Linked DNA regions of Homo sapiens: region 2 is linked to region 1. Evidence: promoter capture Hi-C in human tissues and cell types (Jung and others, 2019). All regions are on one chromosome and are shown on one strand. Each heading gives the region's core, a stretch centred on a gene start or on the middle of the fragment in contact. The rest is flanking DNA. Distances are from core to core; before and after follow the strand shown.

What was found. The method cuts DNA at HindIII sites, captures the fragments that hold promoters and counts their contacts. A contact is called where the count stands out against the background at its distance.
Region 2: a fragment that was not itself captured here is called in contact with the fragment with the promoter of ZNF587 in region 1 in 1 of the 25 tissues and cell types used here (hippocampus).

The regions. Positions count from the first base shown.
Region 1 is chr19:57,846,573-57,852,696 of GRCh38, reverse strand. It overlaps ZNF587 (zinc finger protein 587), which reads right to left and starts at 2,838. Exons shown (of 3, transcript NM_032828.4): 1 at 2,626-2,838. The coding sequence starts at 2,658. It overlaps LOC124904782 (a long non-coding RNA gene), which reads left to right. Exons shown (of 2, transcript XR_007067358.1): 2 at 2,136-2,382. RefSeq lists enhancers at 1,197-2,396, 2,451-2,540, 2,591-2,830, 3,001-3,060, 3,131-3,240. The HindIII fragment of the contact is 32,917 bases long and covers 1-6,124 here.
Region 2 is chr19:57,174,197-57,180,320 of GRCh38, reverse strand. LOC124904780 (a long non-coding RNA gene) reads right to left here. Exons shown (of 2, transcript XR_007067355.1): 2 at 1,390-1,824. It also overlaps the pseudogene LOC100132009. Among named protein-coding and RNA genes, the nearest start is that of DUXA, 9.8 kb to the right of the region's middle. The HindIII fragment of the contact is 5,158 bases long and covers 1,253-6,124 here.

The DNA of each region.
Region 1 (6,124 bases), core at 1,589-4,088:
AATTAGCTGGGCATGATGGTGGGTGCCTGTAATGCCAGCTACCTTGAATGCTGAGGCAGGAGAATTGCTTGAACCTGGGAGGCAGAGGCTCCAGTGAGCCCAAGATTGCGCCATTGCACTCCAGCCTGGGCAACAAGACTGAAATTCCACGTTAAGAAAAAAAAAAGAAAACCTAGCTGTCTCTTTACAAAAAGTGAATCCTGAATCCAGACCCATGTGATTTACCACTTATCTGATCCATTAACCCTCACCTGGATTATGGCAGGAGCCTTATCTCTGACCTTTCTTCCTCTTCCCTCAACCCACAGTCTATGCAACAAGGTCCAGCCAGATGAAGCCTGTAGCCAGGTAGAACTGTGGTAATATCACCTCCTGACTTTGATCCGTTTTATCTCTAAGCATTTCACAACCTGGTAGCAAATCCTGGGTTAATCTTACAAGGGTGTTTACATTGGTTGACAGAAATGGGAATACCTCCATATAACCTGTCATGGACTTGGTATCCTGGCTTCAGAGATTCTCCAGGGTCCTCGGATCAAAGGACTGAAAAAAATGGCACTTAAGAGTCCCAGGACACCACAAGCTAGAGAACCTGTAGATGGCGTCAGGACCAATGAGGGAATGGAACACCCTCCACTTCCCTGTGTGGGTTCCCTAAGTGCTTCTGCAGCCAGGAGTGCCTGAGGGGAAAGGCAGACATTACAAACATGTCACAGGATTTGATAAGCTCAGGACTCCCTGAACCCTTTCTTGTCCCTGGAACCAGGTAACCCTAAGGCTGGTTGTCTGACCTGCTTTTCTCAGTGCAAAATGTCATCTCTACCATCTATGTGATCTACAAAACGGATTCAACCTCCCAAGGCCCCAAAGTCCTCATCCTCTCTCTCTATGATGTTCTTCCTTTGATTGGCCTTTGGGAAACTTCTTAAAAGCCTGGATTTGGATCATGTCCCTCCTTTCTTCAAAACTCTCCATGGCTTCTAGAATCCTCATGATGAATGCACAGCCCCTGGCCTGCTTGCTCTACCAGGAAGAGCTCCATCTCACACGTTGTTCCTGACAGATGCCTGTGAACCCCAGGTTCCATCCTTCCAGCTCTGTCCATCTGCAGGCCATTGCCTGCACCCCTACCTGTGCCTGTCACTCTCCCCACTGCATCCCACTGGTGTCAGAAACAGGTGAAACCGACTTTGCAAAATTATAACTGACGAAATTATGACAGTGAAAGAAATCAGACCTAACCGACTCCATCTTGCTTCCAACCTTTCAGCCGTCTTTTTTCATTCCTGGGCATAGGCTGAATTAACTTTGGAAAAGAATTCAGTTCATGGTTTCACTCTGAAACAAAATTGATAATAGCCCTTTCCTGAAAAGACCCCTTTCTTGCCTGGGGACCAGCCTGTCTTTGCAGGACTAACAAATTAGCTACAAGAATAGAAATTACGGTTTAGGGGTCATGCAGCTTCTGGCTCCAAGAGTCTGAACCTCCCCAAGTTGCTCCTGAAGATAACCTTACTATTGTAAAACCTAATGTGAGTTTCTGGGGTGCTAGTTGAGTTGGTCTCCCCTGTGTGAGACACCCATGGGAAGCCATGGGCGGCCTCTGAGGAGAAAAGTCTCCTTATTGCCTTCATGTCTTTATGCCCCGAGAGCATAACTCTTCAGCAGCATTCCATGGGTTGCTCAGGGAGATCACACTCCCTTGAAGCAGTGGAGCATAATCAAACATCTTGGCTCCTCCTGAAACCCGCAGCCACCCGTTTCAGTTAAGTTAAAGATCTTAAGTAGTTTAGACACACGCCTTTGTTCAAGGAAATTCACAGAAACGGCCAGTGCTTTACATCTTATGGAATGACTCACGAGTTCTCCTTTACTGATTAATCCTTTTCCTGATCGCTTCCTCCCCCTCCAATCAGCCATAAGAACAAAGAGCTTGTAAACCAATAAACTGGGTGGAGCCCAAGAGCTCTGGGCCGCCAGGAAGCCTCCAATGCTCTGGCCACCTGGACCCGCCTTTTAAATGCGTATTCTGTCTCTTTCTAACTCCTTTGTCTCCGCAGGACTCGGGGTATCTGCTGGGTGGTGTGGGGCTGGTTTCCCCAATATCTAAGATCAGTGCTTGGGGCATTTTGCAGATCCTGCACTGGATGGATCAGCGGACAACACACAGACCGGTAATCTGGGTCAATCAGTTCTGCCATCCCACCCAGAACAGAAAACAGCATGAAAAACTCACTTTAACCCCCTATGAATCCATCTCCAACCAGACTGATCAGCACTCCCCACTTCCCAAGCCCCTACCCGCCAAATTTTGAAAACTCTGATCCCAGAATGCTCAGGGAGACTGATTTGAATAATAAAACTCCTGTCTCCCGAACAGCAGGACGGCTCTGCGTGAATTACTATTTCTCCATCGCAATTCCCCAGTCTTCATAAATCGGCTCTGTCTAGGCAGCTGGCAACGTGAACCCACTGGACGGTTACAAGGAGAGGCCTCCTGTGAGCGCCTCAGTGTTCCTACGCCGGGTACCGGCTACAGACCCACGAGCAGGAGCCGCTCCCTCGCTGGTTTAGGACCTGGGTGACGATGGGGTGACCTGAGGGCACAGAAGGCACCACAATTACCTGAGTTGGGCGCCTCGGCACAGCCGCTGCCATCGGACTACTTGGGGAAGCACGGCCCGGGAGCAGTGGTCGCCGTCACGGGGCTGCAGAGCCGCCTCTGGGCACCGAGGACGATTCCTCTCCACCTTCTAGGTTCAGTCACCGCGGTCCCACCCAGCACTCAGGGGCCACAAACTGGGGAAACACCCGCATCGCCGATACACAGCCGCTACTAGAGACCCCGGAAGTCTCGGCCTTACGTTACGTGCACACGTGGAAATGCCTTCTTTCCGAGTGCTCACTGGCTCTGACCGGCTGTCGTTTAAAGCAGAGCTTTCTGGGTAATGTAGTTCCCCACTTTCCATGACACAACATGGTTACCAGGTTCTGAAATGTTCATGGCTCAGATGCACCTCCAAGCCTTTGTACCTATTGGTTCCTCTACCTGTATTACTCTAGCTGGGGTGAAGCCTGTAATACACAGCATTTACCTGAGCTAGGTCCCTCAGTGTGGCTGCTGCCATCAACTGTGGGTGGAGCAGGCATCACCCCAGCCAGTGCCTATGAGCCTCAGACCTGCCACTTGGGAGCAGAGATGACTACTCCTCTTGTGCCTTCTCAGTCCCAACCCAGTACTCCCTGGCCTGACAAGCATGCCCAGAAATCCCTCATCCTGGGCCTTGCAACTAGCGCCTTCTGGGTAAAGTACTTCCCAGAGCTCTCAGCCAACAATGGTGGTATCCTCCAAGAGCAAACCGAATGCAGACCATGTTACATTCTGAGGGCTGCTGGAAAGCCCTGCTCACACCTCAAAGGAGGAAGATTATTGATTCTTTGTAAAAGCATCAAATAGGTATCACATCAGACTCTAGGAAGCTCATCCTGCACCCAGAGAATAAAAATACTATTTGAGATGCTCCCAAACTTTACTTATCTAAGTGGCCATATCATTGGCATCATTCAGACTTACAATGTGTGCACTCAGAGCTGAGAACATTAAGTATTGATTGCTCTTTAAATTCACGTAGACTGAATCATTACAGTCAGTTTTGCGAGTTTCATTGTTTTGTTGGGAACAAAAGAAAATTCTCCATAAGACATGATGACAGGATGGGTACAAAAAACAGTGAGCAAAAATGAATAAGACCTAATATTTGCTACCATAACAGGGTGGCTATAGTCAAAATAATTTAATTATATATTTAAAAATAACTAAAAGAGTATAACTGGACTGTTTATAATACAGAGGATAAATGTTGAGGTGACTGAGACCCCATTTACCCTATGTGATTATCACATATGGCATGGCTACATCAAAATATCTAATGTAATCTACAAATATATACACTACTATATACCCACAAAAAATAAAAATAAAGGCCAGACATGGTGGCTCACACCTGTAATCCCAGCACTTTGGGAGGCCAAGGCAGGTGGATCACCTGAGGTCGGGAGTTCGAGACCAGCCTGGCCAACATGGAGAAACCGTGTCTCTACTGAAAGTACAAAATTTTCCAGGCATGGTGCTGCATGCCTCCAATTCCAGCTACTCGGGAGGCTGAGGTAGGAGAATTACTTGAACCCTGGAGGTGGAGGTTGCGATGAGTCGAGATCATGCCATTGCACTCCAGCCTGGGCAACAGGAGTGAGACTCTGTCTCAAAAAAAATAAAAAATAAAAAATAAATAAATTGCTGGGTGCAGTGGCTCATGCCTATAATCCCAACACTTTGGGAGGCTGAGTCAGGTGGATCATGAGGTCAGGAGTTCGAGACCAGCCTGACCAATATGGTGAAACCCCATCTCTAATAAAAATAAAAAAATTAGCCGGGCACGGTTGCTCACGCCTGTAATCCCAGCACTTTGGGAGGCCGAGGTGGACAGATCATGAAGTCAGGAGATCAAGACCATCCTGGCTAACACAGCAAAACCCATGTTAAAAAAATTGCTGGGCATGGTGGCAGACACCTGTAGTCCCAGCTACTCGGGAGGCTGAGGCAGGAGAATCGCCTGAACTCTGGAGGCAGAGGTTGCAATGAGCTGAGATCGCATGACTGCACTCCAGCCTGGCGACAGAGCTAGACTCCGTCTCAAAAAAATAAAATAATAATAAAGATCTAATGACAGGGAAATAGACGGATGTTGGTACACCCTGAAGCAGGTAGTGAAGCTGGCAGTTGGCCACTGGTTCCCACAGAAAATTGCTCTAGTGATGCTAGCAAATCCCAAAATTGGGGCTCAATCCAGGAGGGTTCCTGGCTTCATAAAGGAAATAATTCAAGAGCAAGCCAAGAGTGTAAAGTGAAGGCAAAGCAAGTTTATGAGAGCAAGAGAACAGGAAAATGGCTGCTCCACAGACAGAGCAGGGCTACTCCACAGGCAAAGTAGCACCCGTGGATTGTTGGCTAGCTATATTTATAGCTACTCCTTAATTATGTGCTAAATAAGAGGTGGGTTATTCATGAATTTTCTAGAAAAAGAGTGGGGAGTTCCCAGAACCAGGGGTTCCTTCTCTTTTAAACTACATGAGGTAGCTTCTGGGCATTGCCATAGCATTTGTAAACGGCCATGGTGCTGGTGGGAGTGTCTTTTAGCATGCTAATACATTATAATGAGCATATAATGAGCAGTGAGGCAATGAGGGTAACTAGAGTTCATATTCTTGCCATCTTAGTTTTACTGCTTTCAGCTGGTTTCTTTAGTGCATCCTGTTTTGACCAGATCCTGTTTCATCATGAGCAGGGTCATGACCAGTGCTCAGAACACAAGTCCTGCTGATCTATGTCACTATGAGGATCACTATGTCAATATGTTTCTTAATTCATATGCTAAGGTGTACTCAATTTCTTTAATCACATTGACATCTATCTCAAAGGACGAGCAACTTAGCCAATGCCATTGTGGTACACACATCAGTCGCTACAACTTTCACCATTAAAGCACAGGTTAAAAAGGCCATCTGAATAACAATATAAACACGGCATCTGAGCTCCAAAATTTCATCTCCTTACAAGAAAGTGGTTATTATTTTCCAGTGACTGCAGGAATAGTTTCACACTGGGAACTGGGATTATCTCAGAATAAATTTTTTTTTTTCTTTTTTGAAACAGAGTCTCACTCTGTTGCGCAGGCTGGAGTGCAGTGGTGTGATCTCAGCTCACTGTAACCTCTGCCTCCTGGGTTCAAGTGATTCTCCTGCCTCAGCCTCCTGAGTGAGTAGCTGGGATTACAGGCATGCGCCACCATGCCTGGCTAATTTCTGTATTTTTAGTACAGATGGGGATTCACCATGTTGGCCAGCCTGGTCTCAAACTCCTGACCTCAAGTGATCCACCCACCTGCGCTTCCCAAAGTGCTGGGATTATAGGCGTGAGCCATCGTGCCTGGCCTCAGAATCAATTACAGGTGCGGTGGCTCATGGCTCAGGCCTGTAATCTGAGCACTTTTGTAGGCCAATGCAGGCAGATCACTTGAGGCCCAGAGTTTGAGATGAACCCGGTAACACAGTGAAACCCCATCTC
Region 2 (6,124 bases), core at 2,582-5,081, 670 kb after region 1:
GATTACAGGCATGAGCCACCGCGCCCAGCCAACACATTTATTTTTCTAAACCCATTACTCTCATCTGTCAGATTACTTTTATCGTGTCAGCCCTCCAAACCCATCCAAACTACAGCCAGGACATATCTAAATGTAATGGTTCTACTTTTCTAGTTTCAGTTCTTTCTTACATAGACAAAGACACATGCACAGAGCAACATTGGTATTAGAGGAGCATGGCATCTATATTAGTCTGTTTTCATGCTGCTATGAAGACCTACTCGAGACTGGGTAATTTATAAAGAAAAGAGGTTTGACTCACAGTTCTGCATGGCAAGGGAAGCCTGGGGAAACTTACAATCATGGCGGAAGGTAAAACAGGCACATCTTACATGGTAGCAGGTAAGAAAAGTGAGAGCCAAGTGAAGGGGGAAGCCCCTTATGAAACCATCAGATCTCATGAGAACTCACCATCGTCAGAACAGTACGGGGGAAACCATCCCCATGATTCAATTATCTCCTCCTGGCCCTGCCCTTGCCACATGGGGATTATTACAATTCAAGGTGAGATTTCGGTGGGGACACAGAGCCAAACCATATCACCATCCTTTTTCCAGCATCTGGTTTAATGTGGTGTTTTGACTGGTAGGCCTTCATTTTACTCAATAAGCATTTGGGGATGCAGAGTTTTCCCTGATCACCAAACTTGGCTTTTGTTTGCCCTTTGACTAAGTCTGATGTACTGTTTCTTACACTGTTACTTTGCTACTAATAATGGATATTATGCTATTGTATAAGTCTCCCTTTACAGCTTCATTAAAAAAATTAAAATTGCAGCCGGGCACGGTGGCTCACGCCTGTAATCCCAGCACTTTGGGAGGCCGAGGCGGGCGGATCACGAGGTCAGGAGATCGAGACCACCCTGGCTAACACAGTGAAACCCCGTCTCTACTAAAAATACAAAAAATTAGCCGTGCATGGTGGCGGGCGCCTGTAGTCCCAGCTACTCGGGAGGCTGAGGCAGGAGAATGGCCTGAACCCGGAAGTCGGAGCTTGCAGTGAACCGAGATCACACCACTGCACTCCAGCCTGGGGGACAGAGCGAGACTCTGTCTCAGAAAAAAAAGAAAAAGAAAAAAGAAAAAAAAAGAAAAAGAAAAAATTAAAATTGCATAGAAGTACGCATATACACACAAACGAGAGATGTAGAGAACCGGTTAACTCTAAATAAGGCCTACAGATTGTAGCAATGTCAATTTCCTGGTTTTAACATTGTACTATATAAATATGTCATCATTTGAATAAGCTGGATGAAGAATACACAGAACTCTGCACTATTTTTTATAATTTCTGCAACTCTATAATTATTTTTAAAATCTAAAAATGCAAATTAAAAAGGCACTATTTTAATTTCCAAATATTTATAAGTGTTCCCACTCTTTTTTCTACATTTATTACAACATTTATTTACAGTCATTTTATCAGTTGTGCAGCCTAAACCAACAATATCCTGTTTAGTCATTCCTAAGATGCACTATTTCTGACATGGAAATATCCTGAAATTGGGAAACTATTGACCCAACACCACCTGTGATAAAACTGCATGAACACCTTTCTAAGATGAAGGACCAGCATCACAGCAGCACATCAGGCCAACAAAGGCAGAAGCCCAGCAGCAGGGAGAGGGCAATCGCATGAGGACCCAGCAGCAGGGAGAGGGCAGTCACACGAGGACGGCAGCAGGGAGAGGGCAGTCACACGAGGACGGCAGCACGAGGTCAGCGCACCAACATTGTAGGTTGCAGGCTTATCCTGATGACAAGAGCGATGGACCTCACCATGTGTCTGTAAACGGCAATTTTTGTTTTTTGTTTGTTTGTTTGTTTTTGAGACGGAGTCTCGCTCTGTTGTCCAGGCTGGAGTGCCGTGGCACAAACTCGGCTCACTGCAAGCTCCGCCTCCCAGGTTCACGCCATTCTCCTGCCTCGGCCTCCCAAGTAGCTGAGACTACAAGCACCCGCCACCACGCCCGGCTAATTTTTTTTGTATTTTTTAGTAGAGTTGGGGTTTCACCGTGTTAGCCAGGACGGTCTTGATCTCCTGCCCTCATGGTCCGCCTGCCTCGGCCTCCCAAAATGCTGGGATTACAGGCGTGAGCCACTGCGCCTGGCCTGAAAACGGCCATGTTGCTACTTAAATGCTAAACCTTTAATGGTGTATTAATAGACAGTTATTAAGTTGCAAATTAGGAGCTTAAATCTACATAAATCAGCTGTGTACTGACTGTATCTCACAGTAACAAATTCACCCAATCTGTATCTTGTCTTCTTTGTAACAGTGTTAAATATTAGCATATCTCGCTCTCAGGTGTGATTCCAGCAGCTGCGCTGAGGCCATTGCTGCTCCCGAATCTCCACTTTCATTTGCCTTCACTGGTGTCACTGTCGCTGTCACTGCTGCTGTCAGTATCACTGTTACTGGTCAATGCAGTGAAGTTGCCTAGGGCTTCCTTTTGTTCCTGGTTGATTGCAAAGTCAGTCATTACTCTCTGGGTGAGGCCCTCACAAATAGGTAAGCTGAGCCACCTCTACTACCTCAGTGGCCTGGGAGGGGCTGTTAGACACTCTTGCACTGTCCATAAACTCATTCAGCAACTCATTTCTAGGGATCTTATTATGCTTCCTAAAAAGCCCCAACATTTTCCAGGCTTCCTGGATTCTCCCAGCCATTAAAAAGAGGACAGCTGGCTGAGCGCAGTGGCTCATGTAGGTAATCCCAGCACTTTGGGAGGCTGAGGCAGGTGGATCACCTGGGGTCAGGAGCTTGAGACAGCCTGGCCAACATGGTGAAACCCTGTTTCTACTAAAAAGACAAAAATTAGCCAGCATAGTGGTGGACGCCTGTAATCCCAGCTACTCAGGAGGCTGAGGCAGGAGAATCACTTAAACCTCGGAGGCAGAGGTTGCAGTGAGCCGAGACCATGCCATTGCACGCCAGCCTGGGCCACAAGAGCGAAACTCCGTCCCAAAAAAAAAAAAAAAAAAAAAAAAAGACAGCTCTACAGTTGAGACAGATAGCTGGCCAATTCAGAGCAGTGTGTCTGACAGGCTGGCTTTCATACGTAGATTTGATATCAGCAGCACAGTCAGCAAATGCTACCTGAAGCTCTGGTGGGTGCTTATCCATTGCCATGAGTGTCAGGATCTCTTCTCTCAGGTTGTTGCAGAAAGTGTGACTATATTCTTTACTATCTTTCCAAATTTGAGTAATCACTTCCAGCCAGTTGGCCACATCCAATGCTCGGAGATCTATCAACATTTGGGAGTGGGGAAAGAAGGCTGAAGGTATCAGGTCCTCATACCACTTCAAGGTGACATCAATTCGTTCCATTAGACAAATCAAATTGAAGAACATGGAATAATAGGAATTATGCCGTTTATCAGGTCCAATGAATTTTCAGTTGTCTCTGGTATTTAAAAGGCCATGTAGCCGGGTGCAGTGGCTCACGCCTGTAATCCCAGTACTTTGGGAGGCCGAGACGGGCGGATCATGAGGTCAGGAGATCGAGACCATCCTGGCTAACACTGTGAAACCCCATCTCTACTAAACATACAAAAAAAATTAGCCAGGCGTGGTGGTGGGCACCTGTAGTCCCAGCTACTCGGGAGGCTGAAGCAGGAGAATGGCGTGAACCCGGGAGGCAGAGCTTGCAGTGAGGCGAGATTGCACCACTGCACTCCAGCGTGTGTGACAGAGCGAGACTCTCTCTCTCAAAAAAAAAAAAAAAAAAAAAAAAAAAAGCCATGTATTTGGTACGCAAGTTCTAGATTTCTGAGAGATGAAGATACTCTCATGGCTGACTGAAAAAGCTTATCATCATCCAGGTCCTTTGGGGGAAAATCTCTTTCCCATTAATTCATTCATTATATCATAGATGATGAAAGATGATCCCTTTGAAGGGTTTCCAGGCTGATAAAACAGCTGAATAATATGGTGATATGTTGCAAGCGAGGGTTCTAGTCTGATGGCTTTCATTTCACATAGAATCTGTAAGGCTGGCAATCTTGCAAGTACATAAAATCTTCGGAGACATTTCAGAATGGTATTAAAAGTCTGTAGATTTGGTTTCACCTTCTGTGCAACCATTTGTCTTAGCAGCTCCAGTATATTATTCCATTCTTCCTCAAATTTCTCATTTATCACCAATACTGTTGCTTCAATCACTGCATTAAATGTGTATACATCAGCACAGAGTCTGTTGTTTAGTAACTCAGTGTACAGGTTTAATGCCTGCTCATAAGCTTGATGCTTCACCATTCCTCGGATCACTGTGCAATAGGAATGTGCATTTTTCCCTGGCATTAGAGAAAACATTCTCTCAGCGTTGTTTTGTGCTCACCAGGTAACTCCAAATTGATCACCAGCTTTCCTCCTAGACCTCTTATTATTTTCCTCTTCCAATTCTTCTGACTGTTCAATTTGTTGAAACTGATAATCAGTTGAGGGCTCCTGGTCACCATAGTAACACAATAAATCCAAGAGACTATATGTTGTTACAAGAGACACAGTGGTTCCTGCTTGCAAAAGCTCATCAAACATGTCCACAGAGACTTTGACTTTTCTGAGCTTGATTCATTCCTTGAGAGTGGCTTCACTTATGTCTTTGATCTGAGGTTCAAAGTACTCAGGCATTAAACACAGTGTATGAGGTTCAGCTATGTCTTTCTGAAAATATTTGGAGTATGAATTAATAATGAACTTGGCCGTATTCTCCCCGGATTTCTTTGCCAGTAAAAATGAACGAGATTCTGAAGAGGATGTTGGTATGAGGTAAGGATTATCTTGAAACACGCAAGGTACAGCCGTGGGAACCCTGTTTACTGTGGATGCAAGAGCCTGAAGAACGGCTACTTTATCCCAAGTTTTCTTTTTTGGAATTACTACTTCTTCAATCCCTGTTATATCAGTTCCTTCAATATTTGAGAGGGTTGCACTTCCAGAATAAAATCTCAGCTGTGTGCTTGTTCACATAGACCTGCTGGCTGACCCGTCAGTGGCTGGTCAAGCCTGCTGCAGAGCCCCAGCCAGCGAACAGCAGCTACAGCCGCCATCTTTGACTTCTCTGCCAAGTGCTCCCACTCTTACACAATCATTCAACATCCCATTTCTGACACCACATCTAAAGCAAAAAAACTAACTGTTCTTTTCTTTCAACTCACTCAAAACAGAACATTTGTGTGACCAAATGAGTGGAGGTTTTTTCATCCATCCCAGTTTTCCAGGAGACACCAGTAGGTGTCCTATAATTCAAATCTGACACTATCTACTTGAAGGAAGTGTCACATCCCATAGGTTGAGGACTAAGTCCCACAGAATTGCCCTTCACTTCAGATGCCAGTCACAATCACCTGGTTGTGGCCTGTGCTTTTGACCAACTACATTAGAATTGGGGTTCCCACAACCCCCTAGAACTCATTTCTAGAATGGCTCATAGAACTCGGGGAAACACTTTGCTTATGTTTACTGTTTTATAATAAAAGATATCACAAAGGATACAAACAAACAGTCAGAAAAGATACACAGGGCAAGGTATGTGAGAAGAGGTGTGGAGCTTCCATGCCCTCTCCAGGAACACTGAATGTGTTCAGCAATCTGGAAAGCTAAAATCTTGTTGTCCAAGAGTTTTTATAGAGCTTCATGTCAAGCCATCCCACCCTTTCCACTTCACAGAGGTTGGTGGGTAGGACTGAAAGTTCCAACTCTCTAATCTTTCTGGTGACCAGCTTCATCTTGAGGCTGTCTAGGGTCTCCACCCTAAGCCATCTCATTGGTATAAACTGAGATGTGATCAAAAAGTCATTAAAAATAACAAAAGACATTTCAACACACAGGAAATTCCAAGGGTTTCAGGAGCTCTGTGATAGAAATAAGAAAGTCAAGCCTACTTGAGTTTGGAGAGGCTAATGCTGGGTAGTGTGAGCACCAATACAATGAGATAAATGGATTATAATGCCGCAGATAAAAATCATCCACTCCATGTGGCTTCTAAAATAATTAACTAACTTAAAATGGATGGGATGGGATGGGCCGGGCGCGGTGGCTCACGCCTGTAATCTCAGCACTTTGGGAGGCTGAGAGGGGTGGA